Regions from separate parts of the Homo sapiens genome. Here region 2 is linked to region 1. The links are contacts of gene promoters, found by promoter capture Hi-C in human tissues and cell types (Jung and others, 2019). All regions are on one chromosome and are shown on one strand. Each heading gives the region's core, a stretch centred on a gene start or on the middle of the fragment in contact. The rest is flanking DNA. Distances are from core to core; before and after follow the strand shown.

What was found. Contacts are between HindIII fragments. The study calls those that stand out against the background at their distance.
Region 2: a fragment that was not itself captured here is called in contact with the fragment with the promoter of EPPK1 in region 1 in 6 of the 25 tissues and cell types used here (IMR-90 fibroblasts, dorsolateral prefrontal cortex, hippocampus and 3 more).

What each region holds. Positions count from the first base shown.
Region 1 is chr8:143,877,122-143,882,932 of GRCh38, forward strand. It overlaps EPPK1 (epiplakin 1), which reads right to left and starts at 1,346. Exons shown (of 2, transcript NM_031308.4): 1 at 1,317-1,346. RefSeq lists a silencer at 1,400-1,489 and an enhancer at 2,056-2,698. The HindIII fragment of the contact is 27,880 bases long and covers 1-5,811 here.
Region 2 is chr8:143,638,804-143,644,525 of GRCh38, forward strand. All of the region lies in intron 1 of ZNF623 (zinc finger protein 623), which reads left to right. Among named protein-coding and RNA genes, the nearest start is that of ZNF623, 5.6 kb to the left of the region's middle. The HindIII fragment of the contact is 7,039 bases long and covers 954-5,722 here.

The sequences.
Region 1 (5,811 bases), core at 96-2,595:
CCCCGCACCATGCGTGAGATGCGGCCTGTGGCTGGCTGCACCACTCCCTATCTCTTCCTGACCTTGGGCCTGGTATGAACCCCTCTGGGCCCTGCCCCTTCCCTGGGCCCTGCCCCTTCCCAGGCTTGGCAGGAGGAAGGCCCGGGAGTGGGTGTCTTGACTCCATGTGGGGCCTGGGAGGGCAGCTGGACAGAGGGTCCGGAGCGAGGGGGGGCAGGGGGTGCAGCTTCGAGTGTGGGGGCATCTGGAGGAGGTGGCTGCTGCCTAGGAGAGCACGGGGTCAGGGTTAGGGTGATGGGGTGGGGAGGAGGCCGAGCAGATTTCCCCGGAGCCTGAGGCACAAAGGGCCCCTCCTGTGGATTCCCCACTTCAGGTGGCCCCCAGGCCCCAAGTGGTGGAGGGCCGTTCCTGAGGAGGGTGGGTCTGCATCTCTTGGGTGAGGTCACTGTCTGTCACCAGACTGCCCGGCAGGCCCCCACCGCAGCCTGGGACAAAGGTTGGGGAGGCTGCAGCCGCCTGCCTGAGTCAGGTCAGGACAGACCCTGGCAGCTGCCTGGGCCCACACAGGAGGCAGCAGCCTTAGCTTCTGCCCGGCTGTGTGCCCTTGTGGGAAGACCCCACCCACCTGCAACCTGCACCATGATCAGAGATCAGTGGCCCCAATAACAAGCTTGGCACAGTGCAGCGGGGGCCCAGGGCAGGGAAGCAGAGCCCTGGGCCCAAGTGATGAACAGGGCCCTTCCTGCCTCTGCCTCCCACGGGTCTCCAGGCGACCGTGTGACCGCTTACCTGACCCGGAGTGGCCACCCCTGGGACCGCTCACCCAACAGCAGGCAGCTTCCCCGGATCCGTGACGCCTCCCTCCCGGCAATGTTGCCAGGAGTCACCCCTCTCAATTTGTCGGCCTAGCTGCCTCCTGGCCTGGGCGTTCCCCACCCTGCAGAGCGTGCCCCGGGCGGTCCTCGCTGCAGGGAAAACCGCTGGGCCTGCGAGACCCCCGCCCCTGGCCGCCTCTCCCGTGAGGGCTCGGGGCCGGCGCCTCCTCTTCACCGGCGCCCGGGACTCAGGGGCGCCACTTCGGACTCGGAGCTCAAATTGCCCAGGGCGGGAAACCTGCCCGGCCAGAGCCCAAGACCCCGCTGGCCGCCGCGCCCCTACCCTGGCCTCGGCGTGCGGCTCCAGCGGGGATCCGGTTTCCTTCGGCGGCCGCCGCCCCGCCCGGCCCCGAGCCCGCACCCGCACCCGCCGCACCTGCCCGCACCCGCCGCACCTGCCCGCACCCGCCGCACCCGCCGCACCCGCCGCACCCGCCGCACCTGCCCGCTCGCCGCTCGGTCCGCAGTGTCTCCGCGCGCCCGCTCCGCCCGCATTTCAAGCCCCACAGGCCCCGCCCCCGTCTAGGGCGGCGCCCAGGTCGGGGCCCCGACGCGGGGCGGGGCGGGGCGGGCAGGTGCCGGAAACCCCGCGCGGCCCGGGCCTGGCGCTTGCACCCCGGGCAAGGGGCGGCGGCTGGGCAGCCGGGACCCTCCCCTCGTCCCCAGCAGGGAGTCACCGCGAAGGAACGCAGGGCGGGCGCGGAGGCGTCCTGTGCCCTTCAGAACAGCTTTTTTTTTTTGGGAAAGGAGTTTGGAGTGAAACGCGGACCGGCCAGAGCGGCGGTTTCTATCCCCACAAGCCACTAATGCGGTGCGGGCTGGTGTCCCTGCCTCCAGCCCCGACCCCACCTTGTCTGCTCAGCTTCCTGGGGACGCTGCTTCACGTCGTGTGTCTGCTGGGTCCAGGGGTCTTCAAGGCTCTCCTTGGCAGGCCCCCCTGCCCCCATGACGTTGTAAGAGCTGGGATGTCCTGCCTGGAGCAGTGCCAGGCCTCACCCCCCGGTCTGGCTCCTCCACCTGGGCACAGAGAATGTTCCCTGTCACCCTGGGAGTACCTGGTCCCCTCTCTGAAGCCCATCCTGGCACCCACCTTCCAAGGCTGGGGCATGCCAGAGACACTGGGCATGGAGGCTCACAGCCTCGGGGGCTGGCCTGGGGGCAGCCTCAGCCTGGCACGGGAACCTTCCATGGATCTTCTGGAGGGCCCTCCCCTTGGCTGCCCCGATATCCCAGGTGGGCAGGGCCACGGAAGTACAGGGCCCAAAGCCCCTCCTCCTCTGTCCCCAAGGCCCCTCCTCCTCTGTCCCGTAGTCCTGGAGGTCCTGAGGGCTCAGGTGCTCCCCACCCCCACAAGTGCCCCCTTCTCCCAAGCTCCAGCCCCCACCTCTGCCTGAGTCATTCTTGACCAGAAAATCATCCAGAGCCAGCCAGCCACCTCCAATGCACACCATGAGGGTAATTGCAGGCGCCCACGCAGGTGCAGGAGGGACAGGTTAGGCCTTCAGGGGTTAGGGTGCTTGGGACCACTGCCCTGGCTCTGCTCTCACCCACCCACCAGGTCCACACTCACACCTGCTCACCCAGGCTGCCTGGACCCTGTCCACACCTGCCACACTGGCCGCACAGCATGGCTGCTGCCGACTGCGGGGCCCTGACCCCAGAGGAGCTCTGGTGGAACCCGCATTTCCCCAAGGCACTGCCAGGCCAACCGCATCCATCCCCAGCCCTGCTCACCGGATGCCTGGACACTGTCTGTGTGGTCTTGCTGGGAGGCATGGTGGTGCTGGCTATGGCCTGTGGCCTGGAGCACACCCCAGAGCCACTTCTTCCTGCGGTGAGCCATTGCAGGCAGCGCCCCTGCCAGGCCACAAAACCTGGGTGTATGCCAGCCCCTCGCTGCAAGAAGGGGGTGTTAGGCTGGCCAGACCAAGCCTTCTTGTGTGCCCAGGGACGGGCCACATGCCTGTCTGCTCCTCACCCCTCCGGTATAGGCAGGTGGCACAGAGCTGGCCCTGCTCCGCTGCACCCATTTCTGCCCGTCACCCCTCCAGTATAGGCAGGTGGCACGGAGCTGGCCCTGCTCCGCTGCACCCATTTCTGCCCGTCACCCCCCTGGTATAGGCAGGTGGCATGGAGCTGGCCCTGCTCTGCTGCACCCACTGGCATCTGTCCCCTGGCTCCTCTCCCTCGGCTTTGTCTTCCTGTGACTCCAGATCCCCTGCCCTGTGGTGGCCCCCAGCCCAGTGACCTCTGGGGACACCTCTGGGGGCAGACTTGGGTGCCTGCCCTACTCCCCAGGTCCCTGGGCCACTCCCAGTCAGGGCTTCTGGGAGCCACCACCTCCCCAGGGGCTCCAGTCCAGTGCTTCAGCCCAGCAGTCCCCGGAGCCACAGGCCACTCCTCCAGCCCCCAGGCCTGGGCCTATACCACCTACACAGCAAGGAAGGGCATCAGGGAGGGTGTCAGGAGGTGAGCGAGAGGGCTCCCATGCCCAGTACTGCCCACGGCTCTACCCACCTCCTCCTGGCACTGGCACCTAGCTTCCCCCTGCAGGTCAGGGAGGCTCTCAGAAGACCTGGTCCAAGGAGGGAGGTCCCAGAGCCCCAAGACCAGTGCCCACGCTGCCCCTGGGCTGCTCCATGGAGTCACCGTGCTGGTTGGAGCCTTTGGCCAGGATCCCCATTGGTCCCTTGGAGCCTGGCATGGCCCAGCTCGAAGGGGAGTGCCCGCCATTGCTCCATAAAGCATCTGGGAGCAGGGTGTCCCCTCCACGGCACATGGCCCAGAGAGGAGACAGGGCAGATGCAGGCAGGATGGAGGGCCCGGCGGGAGCGGGTGGGACAGAGCTGAGCAGCAGGCTGACCTCTCCACCAAGGGCCTGGACATAGCAGCCGGCAGCTCCAACCGCAGGCCCAGGTACAGGGGGCGGGCAGCCTTGGGGGTGAGCCTTCCTCTCAGGCTGGGTGCCCTCACAGCAAAGACATGGGCTGCTCTCCCAGTGGCTCTCAGGGGACACCTGCCATCAGGGGAGCCCAGTGATGCAGCTGCCTCCGGGGGCAGGGAAGGGCTGAGGTGGGGGTTGGAGCCCTGCTGCCTCTGTCCCCCACGGAACCACCCCCCACATCCCAAATTCTCTTTCTCCACACCCTCCTCGCTGTGCGTCTCACTGATCCCCCATCCCCAGTCAGCCAGGGTGATGACACGGGCTGGCCCAGCTTCTCCTGCCCAGGCCTCGGAAGCCGGCCGGCACGAGGAGCACAGCCTCTGCCTGCCAAAGGCCCCCATGCTGCTCGGTCAGGGCCAGGAGAGGAAGGGCCAGAGGATTCCTCCCAACTGTGGCTTGAACTCCATCCCCCAAATTCCTACGTCGAAGTCCAGACTCCAAATCCTCTGGGAATGTGACCTTCTTTGGAAGCAGGGTCGTTGCAGATGCGGTTAGTTGGGATGAGGTCATGCTGGAGTAGGCGGGCCTCATCCCATGTGCCTGGTGTGCTTTCAAAAAGGGGCATCGGACACAGACGAAGACCCACAGAAAGGGAAGATGATGTGAAGATAACAGGAAGAAGATGCCGAGGAGAAGCCTGGAGCTGGGTCTCACCTCATAGCCGCTGAGGGAAATAGCCCTGCCCACATTTCCATTTTAGACTCTGGCTTGGAGAGCTTAGGGTCGATAGTTTCTGTTGTTTGAGTCACCCCATTGGTGGTGGTTGGTTAGGGCAGCTCCGGGAAACTCAAACAGTCCCCAAGCCAGGGAAATAAGCCAGGGAGAGCAAGGGCAGAGGGGGCCGCAGGGTCCAGGTGTGAGGCAAACCCAGCTTCTCCCATTTTATAGAAGACAGAGGAGGAGGAGGGGGAGGAGGAAGGGGAGAAGGAGGGGAGGAGAAGGGGGAGGAGGAGGGGAGGAAGGCTCAGCCAGGACGGAACCCACTCTGGGCCTCGAGGTTGCATTAAACACAGGAAAGGAGGCCCCAACCTGTATCTCAGAGTGAAATTTTTTCCTATCTTGCTCCAAATGTATATTCTTTCCAGTTGCCACATAAATGGAAGTCATACGTAGCAATACCATGCTCTTAACTGGGAATTCTACTTGATTGAAAAGGTAGAAGGCACACCCAGGTACCCAGGCCCTCTCTGCCCCACCCCAACACAGTTTAGAGGCTGGGTAGTGCTGTTCTGAGAGGTGCTGTCCTTGGGCTGGCTAGACCCACCTGTGGGGGCAGCCAGGACCACCTGTACCTCCAGCTCTGACCCCATGGGAGAGCAGCACAGCCATGCATGGGGGATTGCAGTTGTTAGAAGGATGGGAGCTGAGCCATGAAATCGGCACCAGAAATCGCTGCTCAACCCCGCCTGTCCCTGCCTTCCTTCTCCCCTGCCATACCCTCTTCTCCCTAAAGGGTGGGTGTCCTCTGGCTAGGCCCCTCCCAGCAGCTCCAGCCCAGAGCGTCCAAGTTGTCCAGCCTGCCCGTGGTCATCTCTCCTCCCGAGGGACTCTGGGGTGACTTCCTCCCTCCCTCAATCCTCCAAGGCACCTGCAAGGCTGGGGCCCAGCGGCCCTCTGGCCAAAGCCTCTCCCGCAGCCCCACCAGGCTTGCTGGCCTGGCCCCCAGGTGGCCTTCAGCCCCGTGTCCTGCTGCTGAGGCCCTGACCAGGGTTCCCCCAGGGATTCCTCCTCTGCCTAAAACACAGCTGGGGAGAGACAGTGCCACCTGAGTGCCAGTCTTGGGCCTGGCACCCTCCCCACCTGGCCCCAGTCCCCTCCAGAGCCTGACACGGGCAATCTCTAGGTGCCTGGTAGGAAGTGCTGTCTCGGGGCCACCACTGGGTGTGCCGCTGCCTGGCCGGGGGCTTATGCCTCCCATGCCATACTGGCCACCCGGGCCCTCAGCTGGGGGGGAGCCAGCATCGTCCTGGGCGGCCTGGCCTGGGGACTGAA
Region 2 (5,722 bases), core at 3,223-5,722, 240 kb before region 1:
AGGTAGTATAACAGCCATTTTAAAATTTAAAATCAGAAGGTATCAACTGAGTTCCAAAACAAGAAACCAACATCTCCACCCCACCGTTCTCCCACTTCTTTTTTTTGAGATAGAGGTTTGCTCTTGTTGCCCAGGCTGGAGTGCAATGGCGCGATCTCAGCTCATTCCACCCTCTGCCGCCCAGGTTCAAGAGATTCTCCTGCCTCAGCCTCTCGAGAAGCTGGGATTACAGGCGTGTGCCACCACACCTGGCTAATTTTGTATTTTTAGTAGAGATGGGGTTTTACCATGTTGGCCAGGCTGGTCTCGAACTCCTGACCTCAGGTGATCTGCCTGCCTCGGCCTCCCAAAGTGCTGGGATTACAGGCATGAGCCACCATGTCCGGCCCACCCCCTTTTTAATTTATTTTTATTTTTATTTATTTATTTTTGAGATGGAGTTTCGCTCTTGTTGCCCAGGCTGGAGTGCAATGGCGTGATCTCAGCTCACTGCAGCCTCCACCTCCGCCTCCTGGGTTCCAGTCATTCTCCCGTCTCCGCCTCCCAAGTAGCTGGGATTACAAGCATGTGCCACCATGCCCAGCTAATTTTGTATTTTTAGTAGAGACGGGGGTTTCTCCATGTTGGTCAGGCTGGTCTCGAACTCCTGACCTCAGGTGATGTGCCTGCCTAGGCCTCCCAGAGTGTTGGGATTACAGGCGTGAGCCACTGCATCTGGCCTGTCTTTTTAAAATACAGACTGTGTTTCACCATGTTGACCAGGCTGGTCTCTAAGTCCTGAGCTCAAGCAGTCTACCTGCCTCAGCCTCCCAAAGTGCTGTGATTACAGGTGTGAGCCGCCGCACCTGGCCCAGTTTGAATTTATCATCATGGGGAGAATTGAATCTGAATATTTTGAGTTGTATATTAGCATTATTTAAGACGTAGGTTAAAGTTGCTGTAACAGATTCAAATACGGTGTTTCAAATAAGAAACTTGAGTTGTCTTATTCTCTCTTAAAGGTAGGGTTGGCCTCCAGGGACTCTGGCTGCCCTGCCTCATCAGCACTGTGGGGAGGGGAGAGAGTGGACAGCACGCACACATCACTTCCCTTCTCGCCTCATCTTGGTCACAAACTCACCTAACTTAAGGGGACACTAGGAAATGTCATTTATGGGGCAGTCATTAGTAATTTGATGGGGTTTCTAACACTTAAAGGAAGAAGGAAACAGGAATGCTAGGGAACCACATTGGCTACCCAAGTGTCCAGTGGACCTTTCATCCCACACATGGGGATGTGCCAGTGTGGGTCCAGACCACTGCAATAAAGTGAATAGCAAAACAAAGCAAGTCACAGAAACTTCTTAGCTTCCCAGTGTATATAAAAGTTACGTTTAGGTATGCTGTGGTTACTATTCAGTATGCAATAGCATTATGTCTAAAAATGTAAATAATTTAAAGATACTTTATTGCTAAAAGATGATCATCTGAGCCTTAAGTTGTAATCATTTTGCTGATGGAGGGTCTTGCCTTTCTTGATGGCTGCTGACTGATCAGGGTGATGGTTGCTGAAGGTTGGTGTGACTGGCAGTTTCTTAAAATGGGACGATGAAGTTTGTCACATCAGTGGAATCTTGCTTTCACAAAAGATTTCTCTGTAGCATGCAAAGCTGTTCGCTAGTATTTTACCCAAGTAGAACTTCTTTCAAAATTAGAGTCAAGCCTCTCAAACCCTGCCTGTGTTTTATCAACTAAGTTTATGGAATCTTCAAAATCCTTTGTTGTCATTTCAACAGTGTTCACGGCATCTTCACCAGGAGCAGATTCCATGTCAAGAAGCGTACTTGTTTTCCTCATCTCTAAGAAGCAACACCTCAGCCGGGCATGGTGGCTCGTGCCTGTAATCCCAGCACTTTGGGAGGCTGAGGCAGGTGGATCACCTGAGGTCAGGAGTTTGAGACCAGCCTGGCCAACATAGCCAAATCCCGTCTCTACTAAAAATACAAAAATTAGCTGGGCGTGGTGGCGCACTCCTGTAATCCCAGCTACTCAGGAGGCTGAGGCAGGAGAATTGCTTGAACCCGGGAGGTGGAGGTTGCAGTGAGCCGAGATTGCACCACTCCACTCTGCCTGGGGAACGAGAGTGAAACTCTGTCTTTAAAAAAAAAAAAAAAAAAAAAAAAAAAGCAGCAGCACCTCATCCATTCAAGTTTGATCACGAGATTGAAGCAATTCAGTGACATCTTTAGGCTACACTTCTAAATCTAGCTCTCTTGCTATTTTCACCACATCTATAGTTGCTTCCTCCACTGAAGTCTCAAACCCCTCAAAGATTCATGAGGGCTGGAATCAGGTTTTTCCAAAATACCAAATGTTGATGTTTTGACCTCCTCCCATAAATCATGAATGTTCTTCGTGGCATCTATAATGATGACTCCTTTCCAGAAGGTTTTCGGCTGACTTTGCCCAGATCCATCAGAGGAATCATTATGGCACCTACAGCCTTGTGAAACATATTTCTTAATAAGACTTGAAAGTTGGAGTGACTCCCAGCCAGGGGCTGCAGAATGCACGTTGTGTTGGCAAAAGAAGAACATCAGTCTCCCTGTTCATCTCCATCAGAGCTCTTGGGTGACCAGGAGCATTGTCAGTGAGTAGTGTTTTTTTTTTTTTTTTTTTTTTTTTCTTTTTTTTTTTTTTTGAGACGGAGTCTTGCTCTGTCGCCCAGGCTGGAGTGCAGTGGCGGGATCTCGGCTCACTGCAAGCTCCGCCTCCCGGGTTCACGCCATTCTCCTGCCTCAGCCTCCCAAGTAGCTGGGACTACAGGCGCCCGCCACTACGCCCGGCTATTTTTTTGTATTTTTAGTAGAGACGGGGTTTCACCGTTTTAGCCGGGATGGTCTCGATCTCCTGACCTCGTGATCCACCCGCCTCGGCCTCCCAAAGTGCTGGGATTACAGGCGTGAGCCACCGCGCCCGGCCGTGAGTAGTGTTTTGAAAGGAATCTTTTTTTCTGAGCAGTAGGTCTCATTAGTGAGCTTAAAATACTCCATAAACCATGCTGTAAACAGATGCACTGTCATCCAGGCTTTGTTATTCCATTTCCAACACAGGCAGAGTGGATTTAGCATCATTCTTAAGGGTCCTAGAATTTTTGGAATGGGAAATGACCATTGGCTTCACGTCACCAGCTGCATTCGCCCCTAACGAGAGTCAGCCTGTCCTTTTCAATCTTTGAAGCCAGGCATTGACTTCTCTCTAGCTGCGAAAGTCCTAGATGCCATCTTCTTCCAATAGAAAGCGGTTTTATCCACACTGAAAATCTTTTTAGAGTAGCCACCTTAGTCAACCATCTTAGCTAGATCTGGAGAACTTGCTTCAGTTTCTCCCGTAAAGCTTGCAGCTTCACCTTGCACTTCTATGTGTGGAAGTGACTTCTTTCCTTAAACCTCATGAACCAACCTCTGCTGGTTTTCTGCTTTTCTTCCGCAGCTTCCCTCACCCGTCTCGGCCTTCATAGAATTGAGGACGGTTAGGACCTTGCTGTGGATTCAGCTTTGGTTGCCAGTCACACCAGCTGTCGGGCAAAGTTGTTGTTTTAATCTCTCCAGACCACTCAGACTTCTTCCACATCAGCAATAAGGCTGTCTTGCTATCCTGTCATTTGTGTGTTCACTGGAGCAGCTCGTTTAATTTCCTTCTGGGGCTTTTCCTTTGCATTGCCGCTCAGCCGTTTGATGCAAGAGGCCCGGCTTTCTGACTGAGTTTTAGACATGCCTTCCTCACAAAGCTTAATCATTTCTAGCTTTTGGTTTAAAGTGAGAGATGTGGGATTCCTCCTTTCACGTGAGAGGCCATGGTAAGGTTACTAATTAGCCTAATCTCAATATTGTTATATCCAGGGAAGGGGGAGGCTGGAGGAAAGGGAGAGATGGGGAACAGCCGGTTGGTGGTGGATGTAGGAAACACACATTGATAATTCAGCTTCTTATATGGGTGCGGTTCATGGTGCCCCAAACAGTGACAGTAGTTTTAGATTCCTGTTACCTGCCGGGCACCTGGCATGGGTGTGGAGGGCAGAGTTCTGAGGTGGTCTCTTAGATTCCTGGCCCCTAATGTACACACCCCTTCTTCCAGTTACTCATTCAGACACTCATCTGGTACTGTCATGAAGAGACTTGCAGATGTCGGGAGGTCCCAGGTCAGTGAGGTGAGAAGGGAGGTCGTCTGGGAGAGCCTGACCTAATCACACAGACCCTGGGAAGCAGAGGTTCCTCCATCTGGTTGGAGAACAGAGGCTGAGATTAGATGCGTGAGAAAAATGTGATGTGCTGTGCCTGCCTTGAGATTCAGGTGGCCCCTAGGGGCGGCTCCTGCTCACAGCCAGTAAGCACACAGGGTTCTTAGTCCTACAGTTGCAGGGAACTGGATTCTGCCACGAAATCTGAATGAGTTTGGAAACCAGTTTTCCCCAGGGCCTCCAGATGAGAGCTCAGCCCGATGACATACAGTTGCAGCTTTGCGTGACCCTGCGTGGAGATCCCAGCTGGCCTGGCCTGGATGTGTGACCTGCAGAACTGTAGGGTAACAAATGCATGCTGCTTTAAGCTGCTGAGTTTGTGTAAATTGTTTTTGGAGCAGTGGATAACTGGGAGAGGGCTTGGCACTGGGCGGGTGGAGTCCCCTTCTTGGAAGCAGTTCCCAGAGTGAGGATTCCCAGACTGCAGGCTGGGGCATTGCCCTCCACAGCGGGGTTGGATAGAGCATCCCAGTGCCTGCGTGAGGTCGCATAATTCCGGGTCCAGTCAGCTTTTCCAAAGTGAGCACCTGTGTGACTCAGGGCACCACCATGTGCCCCTGCCAGTGACAGTGTCTCCTGAACACCATTGCAGCTTACATCCTTCCACCAGGGATTGGCTCTCTGTTTTCTAGCTTTATGTAAATGGAGTCGTACAATATGAGCTCTTTTGTGCCTGGCTGCTTTTGCTCAGCACTTCGTCTGTTGTGAGGTCCACCTGTGCTTTTATGTGTGGCAGTTTTTTTTCTGTGCATTATTGTTTGTGTGAGTCTTCTGTTGCTAGATATTTAGGGTGTTAGAATGTTGCTAAGAACACTCTAGCTACAGACTTCTGCAGGGTAGGCTTGCAGTTTCTCCAGCAACCTAATTCCCTTGAAAATATCCTCACTGTTGGGGCTGCTTGCTGCCAGTGCATCCCACGTCACAGCTCTGGTTTTGGTTTTTGTTTTTTATTTTTTGAGATGGAGTCTCACTTTGTCACCCAAGCTGGAGTACGGTGTTGTGATCTCTGCTTACTGCAACCTCTGCCTCCCAGGTTCAAGTGATTCTCCTGTCTCAGCCTCCCGAGTAGCTGGGATTACAGGTGCATGCCACCACACCTGGATAATTTTTGTATTTTTAGTAGAGATGAGGTTTCACCATAGCCAGGCTGGTCTCGAACTCCTGACCTCAAGTGATCCACCCACCTTAGCCTCCCAAAGTGTTGGGATTACAGGCATGAGCCGCTGTACCTGGTGCAGCTCTGGTTTTTAAACGAGCAGAACCTCCAGTTTTATTTACTGGCTTCTGGGCTGGGCTGATCCCCCCTCCCTCATTATATTGGCAGTGGCCTTGAGGTATTGAAGACAGTAGTAGTGGATGGGAAGGCAACATTACTGATCTTCGCAGTGGCCCGGCTCCCACTGCCCAGCAAGAACCCCAAAGAGAAGGTTCTTGAGGCGAGAC